Linked DNA regions of Homo sapiens: regions 1, 2, 3, 4, 6 and 7 are each linked to region 5. The links are contacts of gene promoters, found by promoter capture Hi-C in blood cells and fetal thymus (Javierre and others, 2016). All regions are on one chromosome and are shown on one strand. The core of a region is centred on a gene start or on the middle of the fragment in contact, and the rest is flanking DNA. Distances in the headings are between cores, read along the strand shown. Region 1 has its middle 79 kb from the start of LRRC8B. Region 2 has its middle 63 kb from the start of GBP6. Region 3 has its middle 61 kb from the start of LRRC8B. Region 4 overlaps LOC105378841 (a long non-coding RNA gene). Region 5 holds the start of GBP5 (guanylate binding protein 5). Region 6 overlaps LOC105378841 (a long non-coding RNA gene). Region 7 has its middle 5.3 kb from the start of GBP3.

What was found. The method cuts DNA at HindIII sites, captures the fragments that hold promoters and counts their contacts. A CHiCAGO score of 5 or more calls a contact.
Region 1: a contact is called between a fragment that was not itself captured here and the fragment with the promoter of GBP5 in region 5, in 5 of 17 cell types (activated CD4 T cells, total CD8 T cells, naive CD8 T cells and 2 more). The highest score is 9.4, in activated CD4 T cells.
Region 2: a fragment that was not itself captured here is called in contact with the fragment with the promoter of GBP5 in region 5 in 2 of 17 cell types (activated CD4 T cells and total CD8 T cells); the score reaches 5.8 in activated CD4 T cells.
Region 3: a contact is called between a fragment that was not itself captured here and the fragment with the promoter of GBP5 in region 5, in 2 of 17 cell types (activated CD4 T cells and total CD8 T cells). The highest score is 5.7, in activated CD4 T cells.
Region 4: a contact is called between a fragment that was not itself captured here and the fragment with the promoter of GBP5 in region 5, in 7 of 17 cell types (activated CD4 T cells, non-activated CD4 T cells, naive CD4 T cells and 4 more). The highest score is 16.4, in activated CD4 T cells.
Region 6: a fragment that was not itself captured here is called in contact with the fragment with the promoter of GBP5 in region 5 in 8 of 17 cell types (total CD8 T cells, total CD4 T cells, naive CD8 T cells and 5 more); the score reaches 13.1 in total CD8 T cells.
Region 7: a fragment that was not itself captured here is called in contact with the fragment with the promoter of GBP5 in region 5 in 9 of 17 cell types (non-activated CD4 T cells, naive CD8 T cells, naive CD4 T cells and 6 more); the score reaches 19.3 in non-activated CD4 T cells.

What each region holds. Positions count from the first base shown.
Region 1 is chr1:89,444,497-89,447,345 of GRCh38, forward strand. No RefSeq gene overlaps it. Among named protein-coding and RNA genes, the nearest start is that of LRRC8B, 79 kb to the right of the region's middle. The HindIII fragment of the contact is 2,084 bases long and covers 210-2,293 here.
Region 2 is chr1:89,426,176-89,428,932 of GRCh38, forward strand. No RefSeq gene overlaps it. Among named protein-coding and RNA genes, the nearest start is that of GBP6, 63 kb to the left of the region's middle. The HindIII fragment of the contact is 865 bases long and covers 882-1,746 here.
Region 3 is chr1:89,462,154-89,464,881 of GRCh38, forward strand. No RefSeq gene overlaps it. Among named protein-coding and RNA genes, the nearest start is that of LRRC8B, 61 kb to the right of the region's middle. The HindIII fragment of the contact is 6,077 bases long and covers 1-2,728 here.
Region 4 is chr1:89,088,101-89,091,098 of GRCh38, forward strand. The region is part of intron 4 of LOC105378841 (a long non-coding RNA gene); the gene reads left to right. Among named protein-coding and RNA genes, the nearest start is that of GBP1, 24 kb to the left of the region's middle. The HindIII fragment of the contact is 2,856 bases long and covers 1-2,808 here.
Region 5 is chr1:89,271,501-89,274,532 of GRCh38, forward strand. GBP5 (guanylate binding protein 5) reads right to left here and starts at 1,360. Exons shown (of 12, transcript NM_052942.5): 1 at 952-1,360. It also overlaps the pseudogene LOC100421401. The HindIII fragment of the contact is 6,725 bases long and covers 1-3,032 here.
Region 6 is chr1:89,047,210-89,050,073 of GRCh38, forward strand. The region is part of intron 2 of LOC105378841 (a long non-coding RNA gene); the gene reads left to right. Among named protein-coding and RNA genes, the nearest start is that of GBP1, 17 kb to the right of the region's middle. The HindIII fragment of the contact is 7,509 bases long and covers 1-2,864 here.
Region 7 is chr1:89,026,753-89,029,654 of GRCh38, forward strand. No RefSeq gene overlaps it. Among named protein-coding and RNA genes, the nearest start is that of GBP3, 5.3 kb to the left of the region's middle. The HindIII fragment of the contact is 5,231 bases long and covers 1-2,902 here.

The DNA.
Region 1 (2,849 bases), core at 2-2,501, 170 kb after region 5:
GATAGTTTAGTCCATTTACATTCAATGTTACTAATAAGTAAGGACCTACTCCTGCATTTTGTTATTTTTTTCTGGTTGTTTTGTAGTCTTTTCTTTTCTTCCTTAGATTATTACTGTCTTCCTTTTACTGAAATTGATTTTCTCTGATGGTACAATTTAATTTCTTGTTCTTTACTTTTTGTGTATCCATTGTATATTTTTTTGATTTAAGCTTACTATAAGGCTTGCTAGTACTAGCTTATAACCCATTATTTTAAATTGATGACTACTTAACACTAATTGCATAAACAAAGAAGCAAAAAGAAAACTAATAAAAACTCTACACTTTATCTCCCCACTTTGTAACTTTTGTTGTTTCTCTTAATGTCTTAGTATACTATCTATGTCTTGAATAATTGTTGTAGTTCTTATTTTTTATTGGTAATATCCTGTGTTTTTCTGTATACCTCATATTACTAGTGAGTTTTGTAACATCAGACAATTTCTTATTGCTCAATAACATCCTTTTCTTTCAGATTGAAGAACTCCCTTTAGCATTTCTTGTAGGACAGGTCTGATGTTGGTGAAATCTCTCAGCTTTTGTTTCTTTGGGAAAGTTTGTATTTCTCCTTCATGCTTGAAGGATATTTTTACTGGAGATACTAATTTGGGTAAAAGTATTTTTTTTCCCTCAGCACTTTAAATATGTCATGCCACTCTCTCTTAGCCTACAAGATTTCCAATGAAAAGATTTCCACTGAAAAGTCTGCTGACTGAGGTATTGGAGCTCTACTGTACATTGTTTCTTTTCTCTTGCTTCTTTTAGGATTCTTTCTTTATCTTTGTCCTTTGGGAGTTTGATTATTAAGTACCTTGAGGTAGTATTGTTTGGACTAAATCTTCTTGGTGTTCTATAATCTTCTTGTACTTGAATTTGATATTTTTCTCTAGGTTTGGAAAGTTCTTAAATATTATCCCTTTAAATAAACTTTCTACTCCTATCTCTTTCTCTACCTCCTCTTTAAGGCCAATAACTCAGATGTGCCTCTTTGAAGCTATTTTCTAGATTTAGTAAGCATGCTTCATTCTTTGGCATTATTTTTTCCTGTGTCTCCTCTGGCTGTGTATTTTCAAATAATATGTCTTCAAGCTCACTCATTCTTCTGTTTGATCAGTTCTGCTATTAAGAGATTCTGATACATTCTTCAGTATATCAATTGCATTTTTCTTCAACTCTAGAATTTCTGCTAGATCCCCTTTAATTATTTCAACCTCTTTGTTAAATTTATCTGATAGAATTCTGAACTCCTTCTCTGTGTTAACTTGAATTTATTTGAGTTTTCTCAAAACAGTTATTTTTTATTCTCTGTCTCCACAGTCATATAACTCTTTCTCCAGGATTCGTCCCTGGCGCCTTATATAGTTCATTTGGTGAGGCATGTTTTCCTAGATGGTCTTGATGCTTGTGGATGTTTGTCAGTGTCTGGGCTTTGAAGAGTTAGGTACTTATTTTAGTCTTCACAGTCTGGGCTTATTTGTGCCCATATTTCTTTGGAAGGCTTTTCCGGTACTCAAAGGAATTTGGGCCTCAGCCCCAATAATGCTGTGATTTTTTAATACTCCAAGGTACCATCTTGATGGTCATGGATTAGATCCAGAAGAACTATCTGGATTGCCAGGAATATAATCTTGTTCTTTCCCCTTACTTTCACCCAAACAAATGGAGTATGTCTTTCTCTGTGCTGAGCCACCTGGAGCTAGGGGTGAGGTGACACAACTACCACCGTAGCTACCACCACAGGGATTGCACTGAGTCAGATCTGAAGCCAGAATAGCACTGAGTCTTGACCAAGGTCCACTGTAACCACTACCTGGCGACTATCTATGTTCACTTAAGGGCCTAGGGCTCTACAGTCAATAGGTGGTGAAGCCAGTCTGATTTCTGTTCTTCCTTTCAGGGCAACAAGTTCCCTCAGGTCCTGGGTGGGTCCAGAGATGCTGTCTGGGAGCCAGGGATTAGGATCAGAAATCTTAGAAATTCACCTGGTGTTCTATTCTACTGAGGCTAAGCTAGCCTTCAACCCATAAGACAAAATCCCTCCCACTATTCCCTCCCTTTCCATAGGCAAAGGAGCCTCTCTCAATAGCCACCACCACTACCAGCCCATGGGGAGTTCTTCCAGGCCACTGCCAATATTCACTTAAAGTCCAAGGGCTATTCAGTCAGCTTGTAGTGAATGCCAGGCCTGAGAATCACCCTTCAGTGCAATGGGCTCCCATCTGGTCTAGGGCAGGTCCAGAAATACTGTCCAAAAGCTTAGGCCTGGACTCAGGGATCCCAACAGCCCACTAGGTGCTCTGCCTCACTGGGGTCAAGCTGTACTTCAGGTACAAGACAAAGTCCTCTTTGCTTTTCCCCCTGCTTTTCTCAAGCAGGAGTCTTTCACCATAGCCACCACAGCTGGGAATATGCTATGTCTCACCTAAAACCAGGACATCTCCAGTCTTATCCAAGGCCCATAACATACTACCTGAGTATCACCCTTGGTTATTGAGGTCCCAAGGGCTCTTTAGTCAGCAGGTGATGAATCCTGCCAGGACTGGGTCATACTCTTCAGGGAAGCAGTTTCCCTTCTAGTCCAGGGTATATCTAGAAACGTAGTATGGGAGCTAGGGCCTGAAATATAGGGGTCAAGACTCTGCTTGTGTCCTATCCTATTGTGCTGACCTGGTATTGAAGATGCAAAATGAAGCCATCTTTACTTTCCACTCTCCTCTCCTCAAGGAGAAGGAAGGAGTCACTTTCATTGCTGTGAGCTGAGCTTCCTGGGGATGGAGGAGGGGAGGTACAAGCACTCCCTTAGCCGCCT
Region 2 (2,757 bases), core at 64-2,563, 150 kb after region 5:
GAATCCAAAATGAGATACAGAATCTCCAGAGGACAATGATACAACCAAGGACATGTACCATAAACTAAAGACCAGAGCCTTCCTGTCACCCCTACCCAAGGCATAATTGAAACAATTTTAGAATTTGGAACAAGCGACACTACATTTGATAATAATTAGATCTTGCATCATAACACCAAAATTTATAAAGGCATGCAGTACAATGATCAAAATCATGTTTTTTCCAAAAAAAAAAAGACTGTAAATTGTGCAAAAAAGATGCATTTACCTCTGTACCAACTCAGGAAGGTTCATGAGCTGGTACCACCCAGGAGTTTATTCTTCCAGATGACCAGCAGTAGACAAATGGGTACTGAGCAGAGTCTTAGGTAAAAGTCTTGGGAAATATTTGGGCATTGGTCTGGCCAAGTCTACAATGTCCCAATATCAAGGACAACCACCCTGGCTTCTTAGTGAAGACAATGTACAGTTATCCATTAGATCAGGGCTACACAGTCTATGAGCAATAATGTGATTTGTGGACATTGCCCATGTATTGTCCTCACTGATGATTTCAAGCTAAAGCAAACCACCTTATACAGAGATCTAGAATCCCTTTATGTTCTCCAGAGGTAGGTGGAAGAAACCATGAGCAGGAGCAGGAATTGAGTGATAAACAAATGGGCTAAAGAAGAAAACTTTTCTTCTTGTTCAGTTCATCCAGATTATAACTTTAATGGGACACTTTAGACCATTAGACAGTTGACACTGGATTAAACAAAGTCACATAATGCCAATTACACACTGTATTTATGGCAATGTATAATTTGCAAAGATTGACTTTAAAAGATGCTGTGTAACAGAATTGAATTAATTCAATTACTTATTATTTAGAATGCTAAAGCTTATGCTAGTCTTTTCTAATTCTTAACACTCATACTTGAAATCTTGCTGAGTTTCCCCAGAAGAGAATATCGGATGTTTTTTGACATTTTTGACCCATTTAATAATGTTCTTGTGTTTACTTAGTATACATAGACTTTATCTCATGTGTCAAAAGTCCTAGGAAAGTGGTTGATGTTTCTTATAGCAATTAAAAATTATTTCTGAACTGTAAATACAATGTATTTCACTAGGCTTCTTATTTCTGATTAAGTTTTCTTTTTGCAGTTATTTTTGTCAGAAAAGAAGGTTTTAGTCTTTATAGCAATGGTTGGCAATCTTTTCTGAAAATACCAGATAGTAACTATTTATGACTTCGCAGGTCATACAGTCTGTCTCAAGTACTCAGCTCTGCATGTAGTGCAAATGCAGCCATAGAAAATACATAAACCAATAGGTGTGGCTATGTTCCAATCAATTTTTATTTTCAATAACAGGGTGGCACCCATAAGCCATAGTTTGCAGAACTCTGATTTACAGACACATTGGTCAAAGTTTTATATACCGGCCTTGTGTAACTCACACGTACAAAAATCATATGGATTAGATTATATATATTAGAATCTTGAAAAAACTATGTGGTTATTCAAAATAACACAGTGAGAAAAAAGGAGGGAAGCAGTTAATGCCATTAAATCCACATTAATAATTCTGTCTTTTCTAATTGCTTTGAGGCCTTTTATTACCTTGAGCTACCTCTGATCCAATCACATGGCAAATGCCTCCTTTCATAATAGAGCATGGTGCTGTTTCCTCACTTGAACTGAAACTTCATAGAAGACCAGGTGAGACCACAGAATACTAGATGAAATGTTCATGTAGGTAAGCTTTATATTTTCTTCCAAGCTCCATTGCTACAAAGGTGTAAATAAAATACATTTTTATGAGTTGAAGTAACTTCATGGTAGAAAATAATAACTCTGCCTTCAAAAGCAAATAATGGTTTCTTTGTTAACCAATAAAGCATAAGAAAATGAAAAATCAGCAAAACTGAGTTACTTCCTCCCCAGTTTGGTAGCATTAATATTTAGACCACATTCCAAAGCATCTGACTTGGTTTAGTACTTTTCTCTAGCATATGCCAGAATAGAATCAAGCTCTCTCCAGGGAGGCATGTTGCTTTCCTGCCCTTAGACCCTCCAATGGTGTGCAAGTGTGCAGGCTATGGTGAGTGGGGCCAGGAAATCACCAGGCCCCTGGATGGCATGCTTGGGTCCCAGTGGCAGGTGACCTGGGCCTGCTGTCAGACTTCCTGATGTTGCATGCACATGCCCACAGCTACAGTTGAGGCAGCATGATCCCCAGGCCCTGGGCAGCATGTTTGCATGGTGGGTGGTGTGAGAGCCTGTCCTCAGGACACAGAACAGTGTCTGGGTAGACCAGCTCCAGGACCATTGGAGGCACATGCAGATGCTTGGTGGCCCTGCTTCCGGTGGAAGGTTGAGAGGGTTGCTGTTGGTGGCAGTGGCCCCAGGCAAGTGGCTTTCAGAAACTGAGGAGTGTGCATTTAGGCTCCCTTTGTCCTGGGGGCAGCCTCCCTGGTGTGGTGCACTGCTGTTCCTTACTGCACCACTGGATTCAGCCCACGGGACAAAGTTGCAGCCCTCTGGGTGGAAATGAAGAGATGTCCGCAGGGTTCCAGGGACGTGGAGATGATGGGGCTGTTCGCCCCAGAGCAAGATACAGTCTGATGGGGGCTGGGCTTTCAAAATAGTGCTGCACGGCAGCTCCTTGAGTCTTGGGAGTGTCAGTTACCTAAACCAATGCAGGCCGTTTGCCTGATTGCAATGGAAAGCCAAACAAGGAAGCACAAGGATTTTTTAGAGGGAAAGGTTT
Region 3 (2,728 bases), core at 78-2,577, 190 kb after region 5:
CTTTCTAGGAATTTCGCCATAAGCAAGCAGTGTGTGTCTAAAATCTGCTGCAAAGTGTTATCATTCTCTTAATCCATGGTTGACACATGCATTCTTATCACCATTAAAACATTTTCAAAATGGCTGTTACCCCAACACACACTTTTACAGTTTTGTTAGTCCTTTTGCCCCCAGTGACTCTGTGGCCAGCCCTAGGCAGCACGGTTTTGTAGAGCATGCCCCAAATTCTGGGCTGAACTCAGCGTGACCCTTGCCTCATTTCTCCCATTGGCTCTTTCCAACTCCAGCATGCTTTGGATAGTTCAGTCCACACCTGGCAGAGACTAAGTACCGACTAATTGTTGACCTAAGATTTTTTCCCCCCAAGTTTAAGTTGAATCACTTTAAGTAAAATTTAACCAAACCAACCATCATATTCCTTAGTGTTGAACTGCTACAGTAATCAACTGATGCTTCTTCTATATTTACTAATTTCACATAATTGAGCATCTTCTGCAACTGGTTACTTTTCAGAAAGGCCAAATGAGACCATATAGGAAAGAATCTTTTTTATCTTGGGTGGGAAAGATCTTTTTAAGAAGACTCCAAAACAATTACACATCATAGAGGGAAAATCGTTGAATTTCTTTTCATTAAGGGAACCCTCAAATCCATAAAATACAGATGACTTGGCAAAGCTAGTTACAGCACCTAAAATTGATGTAATATCTACATCTGGGTATATGTAGAATATATAACATTATAATATATATATACACATATATATGTGATAAAGTTAGCAAAAGCCTGAGAGGTTTCAACAAGAAATTTTAAATGTATTAACCCAATAAAGAAGTAATATCTAGAACATTCAAGACATACCAACAAATTAACAAGCAACTAAAACAAAAAGCTAGTTAAGCCAATAATGAGCAAATAATTTATATCCATATAAATTATGCATACTATTTGTATCCATAGGATGGAAAAACCTGAAAACTAGTAAATATATAGTGCTCAACCCTACTAGTGTTAAAAAATTAAAAAATAAATCTGATACCACTTTGTAACTATCACCTGTAAAAAAAAAAAAAATCAGAGTCAGAAAACACTAAATGTCAGCAAACCAATGCTAAACAAGAACATTTGTTCTTCTGGTAGAAGAAGAAATGGTATAGTCTTTCTAGAGAGCAATCTGGCAATACTTGTACCATAAGCCTTCTTCCAACTGCTGAATGTATATCCCAGAGCAACTCTTTCCAACTTCTCTACAGGGACATGTAAATGCATAGGCATCTATGGCAGGGGATACTGAAGCACCCTAGATGACCATAGCCAGAGAGGAAAACTAACATGCTGGATGGACAAATCTTGAACAACACAAAAGTGAGTGGAAAAAAATAAGAAACATTAAATGTATTTTACATCCCATTTAATTAGAAACACACACGTATAAAATAATGCTATATGATTTTATATAAAATATGTACATTCAAAGACACATAGCAAGTGTGTTAAACAGGACTTATTGAAAAGGCAGGGGAAGAAATGGGAATGATAACTGGAGGGGAAAGATAAAAATATTAAAATTAAGGTAACAGTAAACAAAACTGGTCCCTTGCACAGATAAATATTGAGAAGTACACTGAGTTAGAAGCAAGGCTCAGCTTCAGTTGTGATAGCCTCATTTACTGAGACCTTGATCTGTACTAGTTATTGTACTAATCGCTTCACATATGTTATTTTAATCCTCACACAAAAACACGCACAGACATATAGAACTCATATTATTATTCCCATTTTACAGATGAAGAAGCAGAAACTCAGAGAAATTATATTTTTTGCCTAAGGTCAAACAGCTAGTAAGTGGTATAGCTGGGGTTTTAATGCAGGTCTACATGACTCTGAATCTCATACACTATATTATCTGCTATCTGTTCATATATTCAAGAAATAAGTGAAGGTACCAAAAATAAGTTCATTCTTTCTGACCGCATTCCCCAATCATCCATCATTGACCACTGTGGTTTCTTTGGTAGGCTGAATGATGCCCCTTAGATGTGCCCACATCCTGACCTCAAAAACCTCTGAATGTTTCCTTGTATGGTAAAAGAAACTTTGCAGGTGTGATCCAGTCAAGGATCTTGAGATGAGGGGCTTCTCCTACATTACTCAAGGAAGCACAATAAAGTCAAAAGGGTATTTACACGAAAGACATTGGAGAAGTCAGAGAGGAGTAGGAGACATGATGATGATGGAAGCAAAAGGTGGAAGTGATCCCAGGAAGGGGCCATGACCAAGGAGTGCAGGGGCCTCTAAGGGCTGAAAACGGCGAGGAAACTGATTTTTCCCTAGAGACTCCAGAAGAATCCAATGCCTTGATTTTAGCCCCATGAGACCCATTTTGGACTTCTGACCACCCTCCAGAATTGTAAGAGTTTATATTGTGTTCTTTAAACCACTAAATTTGTGGTAATTTGTTACAGTGGCAACAGGAAACTAATACACTTAGAAATCATTCAGATTCACTTCAAGATATTTCAAGCTGTCATAGGAGTAGTAGTTACATTTCCAACAGCGAACAATAGCTAAGTAATGCCAAATCCAGAACTAGAATCCAGATCTCTTGACCGCCTCAGTGCTAGGCTCTTTCCACTACACATAGCTGTCAACAAGTATAAGTCTCTGAAGTAATAGCTATAGAGAATTTAAAATCAAGTAAAATGTAGACATTAAAAGTGGACACCTT
Region 4 (2,998 bases), core at 131-2,630, 180 kb before region 5:
TAACTCTCATGACAGCAAAACAAGATAATAAATGTCTTTTAACATGGGAAGTACTTTCTCCTCTCTGGCAGGTTGCCCATATGAAATGTGAATAAGTATCAACTGTCACATGGACAAATGACAATTTTCCAAATGAAGGTACATGCGTGACATCCATTTGCCATAACACATTAGGACTTAGACCTCTGGGATTAACTCCTGCCTCCTGAGTGGGCAGGTGTAGAATCTGACACCGGGTGCAATCTTGTACAATATTTTTTGGCTGTTTCCATGTGATATCAAATTTATTTTTAATCCTGCTGCATTTACATGAGTCAAGGCATGAAGTTCTTGTGCTTCCATGAATGCAGATGATACTAGCAAGTCAGCTTGTTCATTTGCTTTAGCCAAAGGCCATGGTAAATTAGGGTGTGCTCGAATATGAGTAATACAAAATGGGAAATTTCTTTTTCTTACAGTTTGTTGTAACAAATTAAACAGCTCGTTTAACTGATAATCCATACTATATTTGAGTAGGGCTGTCACATGGTTGGAACCTCCGGTTGAGGTTTATGTTAATAATAGTGTTTGGATGCCTGAGCCTACAGATACTTGTGGGCCTCTCACCCAGAGGAGGAAGGAATGTTAATAAATGTGTCCATGGGTTATCAGTTCCCTCCTGTTTGCATAGTTCCCTTGGCTGCGGGTGGGAGGTCCCCGGCTTCTTGCACTTCCTGGGTGAAGCAACGCCCCACCCTGCTTCTGTTCGCCCTCAGTTGGTTGAACCCACTGCTTAACCGTCCCAATGAGATGAACTGGGTACCTCAGTTGGAAATGCAGAAATCACTTGCCTTCTGCGTGGGTTTCACGGTGCTGCAGACCGGTGCTGTTCCTATTCGGCCATCTTGGTCCCTCCCCTCAACTGGCACTCTTTAAATAATAAAAATCTTATGAGAATCATCAAACCGTTTGCTGAATTTGATCCATTCTCTCATGAGTACTTGGAAAAATGGCAGTGTGTGAAAATAAATATGACAATTGTATCCAAAATAAATTATGAAGACTTAATTGAAATAGAAATAGGCACATAGAAAGTGAAATGTTAAATAAATAAAGCAGGTTCTAAAAACTACTTCCTTATTAGATTTTATACCAGATTGGATAAATACTGATCCTTGATTCTTACAAGCTAACACTATTACAAAAAATCTTGAAATATTTTTTCTAACTCAAATTATTTATCTGACTATATTCAACAAATGAAACAAATTCTAGTTGATTGTAACATGCCATTGAACAGGATTTGTGGGATTAGTCTGACTCTGTGCTATGATAATATAGCTATTATGAAAAGTAAGGATTAAAGATGTGTGCACTCTTTAAAAACATCACTAAATAAACAGAATGTGCTATATGGATCTTATTCTCTTTTATAAGGGAATAAGCTGACCTCATAGTACTGAAAATGTTAAATACTAAGGTATTTTCAAGTTATATTTTCTTTTTGGATTCATCATGAAGAAGAGTGTATTATGCACACAGATCAATGTGCATTTTCTTAATTTTTATTCTTTATGGATACATAATAGTTGTATGCATTTATGGGTTACATGTGATATTTTGATACAAAAATAAAATATGCAATGATCAAATCAGGATAATTGGGATATCCTTCACCTCAAGCATTTATCATTTCTTTGTGTTCGGAATATTCCAATTCCACTCTTTTAGTTTTTTGAAATATGGGTACAAAAATATAGTTAGAAGAAATAAGATTAATGTTGTTAAAAATAGTTTAAATGAAATGTCTACTTGTGATGACAAAGGGAAGGAAATATAAAATAAGTGGTAGGGGAGGGATAGGATGAACGTCAATTCTGCCTTTGATTGAAGTTGCAGGAGCAAACTGTGGTATGTGCCACCAACTCCTGTGTATTAAGTTTTTTGTAGAACTGTAGCTGGTTATGAACTTGAGGACTTGGTAACAGACTGAATTTAATGTAGGGCAGGCACAGTGATCAGAGTGCTGAAGGGGTGAACTGTGTCAGATGCATCTGATACACTGACTCATCCTCTCAATGTCTCCTCTCATCCCAGCTGTGACTGGAATGGAGAGTTCAAAGGAATTCAAGCTGATAGCATCTTGCTTTAGGACAGATGTTTCTTGTCTTTCTGTTCAATCCTAAGGCCATTTCTATACAACGGACACTTTTTTTTTTCTGTATTAAGAGTCTGTTTATTTCAGTATTAAGGTAAAAGAACCTAGTTATAATAAGTGTTTTTCATATCTTTCTTCATCATTCTCACAACAAATATATGAGAAGAATGACGCTTAAAAGGTATGTAACTTTCTGAGGTGAGGCAACTAGTAGGTTGTAGAATTGGTTTTTGAATGCAGATTTCTCTCCTTCTTTCTCCACTGTTCTTTCTCACCCTTGTTTGCACTAGTGATCCTATCTTCTTTCTACAGCAGCAATATTTATTTTAACAAACCTACATAATTTATAGACCACGCTAATTTTTTTGTCTTTAAAGTAGTAACTTTGTGTGAATATTCCAATAATATTATTTTTTATAAAAGAAATTTAGGGCACCCTTCAGCGTTTACCTTCAAAGGCAGGTTATGAGTCCTGGGAGAAGAGTTTTACTTCATATCTTGTCACATTGTATATGTCTAAAATTGATGGTGAATTGGTTACTGACAATTATCATAAAGTTTGGTAGTGGATAATTTAAAAAGATTCTTAATGGATAAAAGATATGAGACATCTCCGTTGACTTTAGGGAAAAAAAAGTGTGTTAAGGGCTCTTAAGGCTATTTAAGAAAAAAGCTTGAAGTGTGATATCATAGCATTTCAGAACTGAAACAGATCTTTGTCTGTCTTCTTTTTTCAGCCCAAAGATACTTTTAAGTGGTTTAAAGATAACATACAGATTATCACATTAGAAACACAAAGTTATTCAAGAAAATGTTCACCAAAAATATTTTTTTCTGTGTTTACACATTCATAAGACATTT
Region 5 (3,032 bases), core at 110-2,609:
TGCTCAGAAGTGGTAGTGGAAGGATTTCTGAAAGAAAACATCTGTTTTCAGCCATATGATTCTAGTTTGGGTTTTGCGCCTGCATTTGTATATGTAGTTGTTATTGCTTGCTTTTGCTTATTTTGCATAGTTTCTGGTTTGAATTTCAAGGAAAAGGAAAAGGCTCTTATTAAGGATATAAATGGAAATCAAACTAGTACAAAATGCTTGAAGTATGTGTCATGGTAAGAAATTCAAAGGAGAGAATTTCAACGAGTGAACAGTTGCCAGACAGTATTGAGGGATCCAGTTGGGCAACTGTTAAATTAGGTGATTCATAATAGTAAAGGCAATAGAGTAGTAGAAGCAGAACCCAACACAAAAGGGGTTAGTTAAGTGAGTAGATGCCAAGAAACCAACATGAATTAAGTCAGGGCTATTGCTAAAGGAAGAAATCTACTTTCAAACAAAGTACAAGACTATGACTAAAAATACATCACTGTTTTCATGAAACTTCTCTCTGGGCAACATTTTTTTCTTGTCCTTAATGTTTGCAAGCTACTTACATTGCATCATATTCATTGTTCTTTCTCATGAAAATAATAGCTATCATAGTTTTTGAAACTTTCATGCTGAAGTTCGAGTCAGTTTAATCAGATTTTATGAAGGACGAAGGTAACTTAAGTGGAAATTATGATCCTGAATAAGTCATAAAATTGCAAAGGAAGAAAAATAATTTGAAGGCATTTCAAACTCTTAGTTTAGTCACCACACACATTGATGTCTAATTCAGCAAGAGGCAGACACAGCTGGTACTTGATGAATTCTGCTGCCTGTCTGATAAGAATACAATTTATTCTTTACTGAGGTCTGATATACCACATCAGGATAAGCTGCATCCTATCCTTTGTAGAATGTTTCTAAAACCAAATGAATCTTGCAAATCTCTTCCACCTCTTGCCCCAGTCTTACCGTGTCCGGAATTGGTGGGTTCTTGGTCTCACTGACTTCAAGAATGAAGCCGCGGACCCTAGCGTTGAGTGTCACGGTTCTTAAAGGTGGCGTGTCAGGAGTTTGCTCCTTCTGATGTTCGGATGTGTTTGGAGTTTCTTCCTTCTGGTGGGTTCGTGGTCTGGCTGGCTCAGGAGTGAAGCTGCAGACCTTCGCGGTGAGTGTTACAGCTCTTAAGGCTGCGCGTCTGGAGTTGTTTGTTCCTCCTGGTGGGTTCGTGGTCTCGCTGGCTTCAGGAGTGAAGCTGCAGACATTCCCAGTGAGTGTTACAGCTCATAAAGGCAGTGTGGACCCAAAGAGTGAGCAGCAGCAAGATTTATTGCAAAGAGTGAAAGAACAAAGGTTCCACAGCCTGGAGGGTGACCTCAGTGGGTTGCCACTGCTGGCTACTTCTCTTATCTGGCCCCACCCACATCCTGCTGATGGGTCCATTTTACAGAGAGCCGATTGGTCCATTTTACAGAGAGCTGATTGGTCTGTTTTGACAGGGTGCTGATTGGTGTGTTTACAATCCCTGAGCTGGACACAAAAGTTCTTCATGTCCCCACTAGATTAGCTAGATACAGAGTGTGGATTGGCCTATTTACAAACCTTGAGCTAGATACAGAGTGCTGATTGGTGCATTTACAAACCTTGAGGTAGATACAGAGTGCTGATTGGTGCATTTACAATCCCTTAGCTAGACATAAAGATTCTCCAAGTCCCCACCAGATTAAATAGATACAGAGTGCTGATTGGTGTATTTACAATCCCTTAGCTAGACATAAAGATTCTCCAAGTTCCCACTAGACTCAAGAGCCCAGCTGGCTTCACCCAGTGGATCTTGCACCGGGCGGCAGGTGGAGCTGCCTGCCAGTCCTGCTCCATGCACTGGCACTCCTCGGTCCTTGGGCCATGGATGGGACAGGGTGCTGTGGAGCAGGGGTCAGCACAGGTTGGGGAGGCTCAGGCAGCACAGGAACCCATGGCGGGGTGAGGTGGGGAGCGGGAGAGGGGAGGAGGCTCAGGCATGGCAGGCTGCAGGTCCCCAGCCCTGCCCCACCGGGAGGCAGCTAAGGCCCTGCAAGAAGTGGAGCACAGCAGCTGCTGGCCCAGGTGCTAAGCCCCTCACTGCCTGGGGCCGCTCCGAGTGCAGGTCCCTCAGAGCCCAAGCCCACCCAGAACTCGCGCTGGCCCTCAAGCACCGGGCGCAGCCCCAGTTCCCACCCCTGCCTCTCCCTCCACACCTCCCAGCAAGCTGAGGGAGCCAGCTCCGGCCTCGGCCAGCCCAGGAAGGGGCTCCCACAGTGCAGCGGAGGGCTGAAGGGCTCCTCAAGTGCCGCCAGAGTGGGTGCCCAGGCAGAGGAGGCACCGAGAGCGAGGGAGGGCTGCAAGGGCTGCCAGCACGCCGTCACCTCTCATTACCTTGATTATAAAATCGGGAGAAGAGGTATTTTAGAGCTAGTAAGAAAACTGCTTCCATGAGGGACTGGGCACGGTGGCTCACGCCTGTAATCCCAGCATGTTGGGTGGCCGAGGCGGGTGGATGACGAGGTCAGGAGATCTAGACCATCCTGGCTAACACGATGAAACCCCGTCTCTACTAAAAATATACAAAAAATTACCTGGGCATGGTGGCGGGCGCCTGTGGTCCCAGCTACTCGGGAGGCTGAGGCAGGAGAATGGCTTGAACCTGGGAGGCGGAGCTTGCAGTGAGCCGAGACTGCACCACTGCACTTCAGCCTGGGTGACAGAGCGAGACTCTGTCTCAAAAAAAAAAAAAAAAAGAAAAGAAAAGAAAAAAGAAAGCTGCTTCGATGAGAACTTGCTGAGTTCGAACTCTCGTCTTTTACTTTCACTGTGGTGATTTCTCATTTATTTTCTTCACTCAGTCCTGGGGTTTTTGTTCTTCCCACCCCATTTTCCCTGCTCGAAAAAGGAGACAATTTGAATACAAAATATGGAATAACAGAAAGGGGGATTTTTGAAAGTTCTCTGTAGGAAATAGAAACCAAAAAGGAAATTCAGTGACTAAGCCAGATGACAAAGGGAATTGCCCAACT
Region 6 (2,864 bases), core at 317-2,816, 220 kb before region 5:
TTAAATATATGTTCTTTCTAAAAAGGTTTCCAGAGCATAAAATTTGTAATAAGGTGTGAATGTGTGATCTTTTATGTAGCTATCATTAATATTTTTCATAATTTCTGTTTTGATTTTTTTTTATGAGACAGAGTCTGGGTCTGTCACCCAGGCTGGAGTGCAGGGGTGCAATCTCAGCTCCCTGCAACCTCTGCCTCTGCAGCTCAAGTGATCCTCCTGCCTAAGCCTCTTGAGTAGATGGGAACACAGGTGTGCACAACAACCTCTGACTAATTTTTTTTATTTATTTTTATTTTTTTCTGTAGAGATGGGGTCTCGCCATGTTTCCCAGGCTGGTCTCAAACTCCTAGATTCAAGCGATCCACCTGCCTTGGCCTCCCAAAGTGCTGGCATTATAGGCATGAGGCACCATGCCAGGCCTGTTTTGAAATTTCATACATATTTATAAAACATATTTTCAGGATGAGAGAATATACGAAGAAGTTACATAGCATTGTGTATCTGTATAGAATAAAAATGATCTAAATCAATGTCATCAGACCATGGCTTTATAGACACCATCTTCTAGTCAAATCACTCATCTGTTTTTACCCAGTACTCATACTGTGGGAAAAGTGTAGGGGCACAGAACAGTGAACACTTTCGGGAATGTTGGAATCATTCTGTATTAGAATTTTATTCTTATAAAAAATGTTGGTGAATCAGTCTGGATTAGGTCATGGAAACAACACACCATCAATCATCACGGAAAGAAGGTGTTTCATGTGGGAATTTTAAGAATATAGGACAAACAGGATGTGGGAGAGATGGGGTTTCAAGGTCTGATAAGGGAATATTTGGTGGGATAAAGAAATAGTGACGAAGCACTTCAGCCTGAAGAGACTTCTTAGAAACCTATCAGGCCCATATTTCCTTCTCCCAAAAGGCAAAAATAGTACTTAAGTTATCCTCACCAGGAGATTTGGCTACAGAAATGAATAACCCAATTTTTAATCTATTCAGCTAGTCTCACCACTGCTACCCAAAGAGCTACCTGAGAGTCTTGGAGACACAACTGAACACCAATGATAATCTCTTAGATTATAGCTGGGGATATTACCAAAGATGTGATTTACCCAGAAGGATTAACTCTAGTGAAGCAGCTAGATCAGGAAGGTTACTGGGGTCCGAGTTTGGACTATGCCCTGCTTGGAATGAGAATATGGTCAGAAATCTTGTACTGTTAATAGAATGACTGCTCCACTGGCCAAACCATCAGAGCACAGCAGAAGTCCCAAACTCCCTTGCTCATGTGGTCCTAGACAACTACATTGTTTTTGACTGTCTTCTTGCTGTACAGGGTGATGTTTGTGCTGTTGCTAACATTTGCTGCTGCACCTGGGTAAATACATCTAGTTAGATTGAATTGGACACATCTAAGATCCTAAAGTTAGCTAAATCTCTGAATGGGACACCTTCAAAAAGCCTCCTGGCTGGACTTCCTGGCTTGAATTTACAATTTCCAGATATTTTCAGCTGGCTTTTGTCTCTAGTCTAGGATACCTTCTGTGTTCCATCCTACAGATCTTAATGATCCTTCTATTTGGGCTAATCATTTGGGTACTCTTTTGAATTGTTCTAGCCTGTTTTTTTTGTTTGTTTGTTTTGTTTTGTTTGGAGATGGAGTTTCACACTTGTTGCCCAGGCTGGAGTGCAATGGTGGGATCTCGGCTCACTGCAACCTCCACCTCCTTGGTTCAAGCGATTCTCCTGCCTCAGCCTCCCGAGTAGCTGGGATTACAGGCACGCACCACCACACCCGGCTAGTTTTGTATTTTTAGTAGAGATGCATTTTCTTCATGTTGCTCAGGCTGGTCTCAAACTCCTGACCTCAGGTGATCCGCCCACTTCGGCCTCCCAGTGTGCTGAGATTACAGGTGTGAGCCACTGCGCCCAGCTCTTCTAGCCTGTTTTAACAGATATCTGCAAGAGGCTTGGATCATGCTGACCTAACCCAGGAAATTTTAAATTTACTCCAGACAGGAACCAGAATCAACATAACCTACGAGACTTTGATTAGAATCTAACAGGTACCTGAGTGCCTTTTGTAAGTAAATGGCTCTAGTTGCTCAATTGGCCACTGCTCTGCCACCAGGATCCCTAGAAGAGACCAGATAAACCTGAAGCACGTAGCTAATCACTTCCATGCCGTGATGGAATGCAGTGCTGTCTGCCAACAAGTTTGAGCCAGTCTTTCAAGATGCATCCTGAGTGGCTAACTGGGCCTGCATTTCAAGTTGAGCCAAGGGACCATTTGCTAACGAGGGGACACACACATGTTCTGAGTTCACCCAAAACACATACCTTATTATTTTGGGGCTTTTCAGCCCACCTGCCTCTGCTAATCAGGGCTCAGCTGTATTGACCCATTAGAACTCAGCTGGGTTGACCAATCAGAACTAAGTGAGTTTGGAGTTTTAATTCTCAATTGAATGAACAGACCTGATTGGGAACCTGCGTGGGAACTTTGGCTATTAAACCTGAGCATTCTTTCTGTTCTCTGGAAGAAATAATGTTTAAGTTGCTAACACTTTATGCATTTTCCTAAAATTGAATCAAACAACTCCTTTTGAAACATAACCCTGATATCAGGGAAGTCGTACAACACCGTGCTAAATAATTTTATACCTCTAACCAAGGTCTGTGCCCTAATCAGCAGGAAGTGCCAGAGTGTCTGTCACCCATTCTCCCTCAAGATTGAGAAATGAACAATGAAAAAAGGGGGATTTGAAAATGCAGAACCAGCCCAATGTGGTTCAAGTTTGTGTAATAAAATAATGCGTTGTTTTACTGTTGCCACGGTCTCCTGGTTTCAAGTTATGTTA
Region 7 (2,902 bases), core at 287-2,786, 240 kb before region 5:
AGGGAACATTCTCAACTTTATAATGTCCTATGAAGTTTTATTTTGATATAATTTTAGACTTCAGAAAAGTGGCAAAATAGTACAAAGTTTCTGTACAGTCTTCCCCTCAGTTCCCCATATGTTATCATTTTAAATTTATTTTCTTTCTGTCTGAACTATTCAAGGGTTAGTGACAGACATAATGGCTTTTTATACCTAAAAACTTCAGTGTGTGTTTCTTAAAAAAGAGAAATTATTTTACAGAGCCACAGTATATTTGTGTAAAGTCCTTCTTAGGCCATAGACTTTTTTTCTAGTTTTTTATTTATTTATTTTTTTATACTTCAACTCTTAAGTTCAGGGGTACATGTGCAGGATGTGCAGGTTTGTTACACAGGTAAATGTGTGCCATGGTGGTTTGCTGCACAGATCATCCCATCACCTAGGTATTAAGCCCAGCATACCTTAGCTACTCTTCGTAATGCTGTCCCTTCCCAAAATCCCACCCCAACAGGCCCCAGTGTGTATGTTCCTCACCATGTGTCCATGTGTTCTCATTATTCAGCTCCCACTTATAAGTGAGAACACAGGGTGTTTGGTTTTGTGTTTCTGTGTTAGTTTGCTGAGGATAATGGCTTCCAACTTCCATCTCCATCCATGACCCTGCAAAGGACATGATCTCGTTCCTTTTTATGGCTGCATAGTTAACAGCTGGAATTCTGTGTCTCCTTCTTGGAGGGAAAACAATATGTAACAGACTCTTTAGACCTGTTCTTGCAAGTGTAACATGGATATGTGTCCTTAAGAAGCAAATATTAGTAGTTAATATCTGAATTTCTCTGCCCATCTACTTTACTGGGAAATGATAGAAGGTTGATTCAGGATTGGTGGAATCCTTTGGTGTCATTCTTGAAGCTCTTTAAGGTGAGGGACTGGAGCACTCGGTGTTGGGACTACCTACTCGTGCATTTGTCCCTGAGATAATAAACACTATTCACAAATTTTAAAATGTTCAAACTATTATGAGATCTTGGTTGGCATATCCCAGAACTAAAAGTCTGCATATGGTGTTTAGTTGGTAAATAATATTTACAAGAACAGATTTATTTACAAGGCATGGTTTTCCAACTGAGTGAATATAGAAGAACTCTCAAAATATGTTAAAGACTCCACGGAGCATATGAAGGCTTGAGTTTTTTTAATTCAATGTAAATCAAATAAAAGCACTTACCAAAGTGTTGAAGAACATTTGTTATCATTTTGAATGAATAGTGGCAATTATTGTATTTTAATTGAGGCTTGGTCTACATGAGGTTATGATTGAAAGTGACATTCCTGGAATAATGGATATTTCATGAGAATCATGAAACTATTTGCTGAATTTGATTCATTTTTACATGACTATCTGGAAAAAAGCCAAAATCAAAAAAAGACAAATGTGTCATCTGTATTCAAAATAGAGTAGAATGAATTAATCAAAACAAAAAATATAAAAATATTTGGAAAAAAACCAGACCCCCAAATACTAGTCCAGTATTGTAAGTTTTTCATGAGATTGGACAAATACTAATCAATTAACGATTATTATGAGTTGAAGGTATTATAGAAAACCCTGAAAGTTTGTAAATGTTTTCATTTCTTGCCACCTGAAAACAATCTTTCTGTGAGAAAGTGGAATATACTCGTTCTGGATGTTTGCAACATTCTATTGGACAGTATTTGTGGACAGTAGTATAACTATATCATATGACAATATAGCTATTATGAAAAGTAAAGATAAAGGATTGCATGCACTTTTTAAATTATACTTTAAGTTAGAGGGTACATGTGCACAATGTGCAGGTTTGTTACATAGGTATACATGTGCCATGTTGGTTTGCTGCACCCATTAACTTGTCATTTACATTAGGTGTTTCTCCTAATGCTTTCCCTCCCCCTGCCCCCCACCCCACGACAGGCCCTGGTGTGTAATGTTCCCCACCCCATGTCCCAGTGTTCTCACTGTTCAATTCCCACCTATGAGTGAGAAAATGCAGTGTTAGATTTTCTGTCCTTGTGATAGTTTGCTTAGAATGATGGTTTCCAGCTTCATCCATATCCCTGCAAAGGACATGAACTCATCCTTTTTTATGGCTGCAAAGTATTCCATGGTGTATATGTGCCACATTTTCATAATCCAGTCTATCATAGATGGACATTTTGGTTGGTTCCAAGTCTTTGCTATTGTGAATAGTGCCGCAATAAACACATATGTGCATGTGTCTTTATAGTAGCATGATTTATAATCCTTTAGGTATATACCCAGTAAGGGGATGGCTGGGTCAAATGGTATTTCTAGTTCTAGATCCTTGAGGAATCACCATACTGTCTTCCACAATGGTTTATCTAGTTTACACTCCCACCAACAGTGTAAAAGCATTCCTATTTCTCCAATCCTCTCCAGCAACTGCTGTTTCCTGACTTTTTAGTGAACGCCTTTCTAACTGGTGTGAGATGGTATCTCATTGTGGTTTTGATTTGCATTTCTCTGATGACTAGTGATGATGAGCATTTTTTCATGTGTCGGCTGCAAAAATGTCTTCTTTTGAGACTTCTCTCAAAATAAGACATATCCTTTGCCCACTTTTTGATGTGGTTGTTTGTTTTTTTCTTGTAAATTTGTTTAAGTTCTTTGTAGATTCTGGGTATTAGCCATTTGTCAGATGGGTAGATTGCAAAAATGGTCTCCCATTCTGTAGGTTGCCTGTTCACTCTGATGGAAGTTTCTTCTGCTGTGCAGAAGCTCTTTAGTTTAATTAGATCCCATTTGTCAATTTTGGCTTTTGTTGCCGTTGCTTTTGGTGTTTTAGTCATGAAGTCCTTGTCCATGCCTATGTCCTGAATGGTATTGCCCAGGTTTTCTTCTAGGGCGTTTATGATTTTA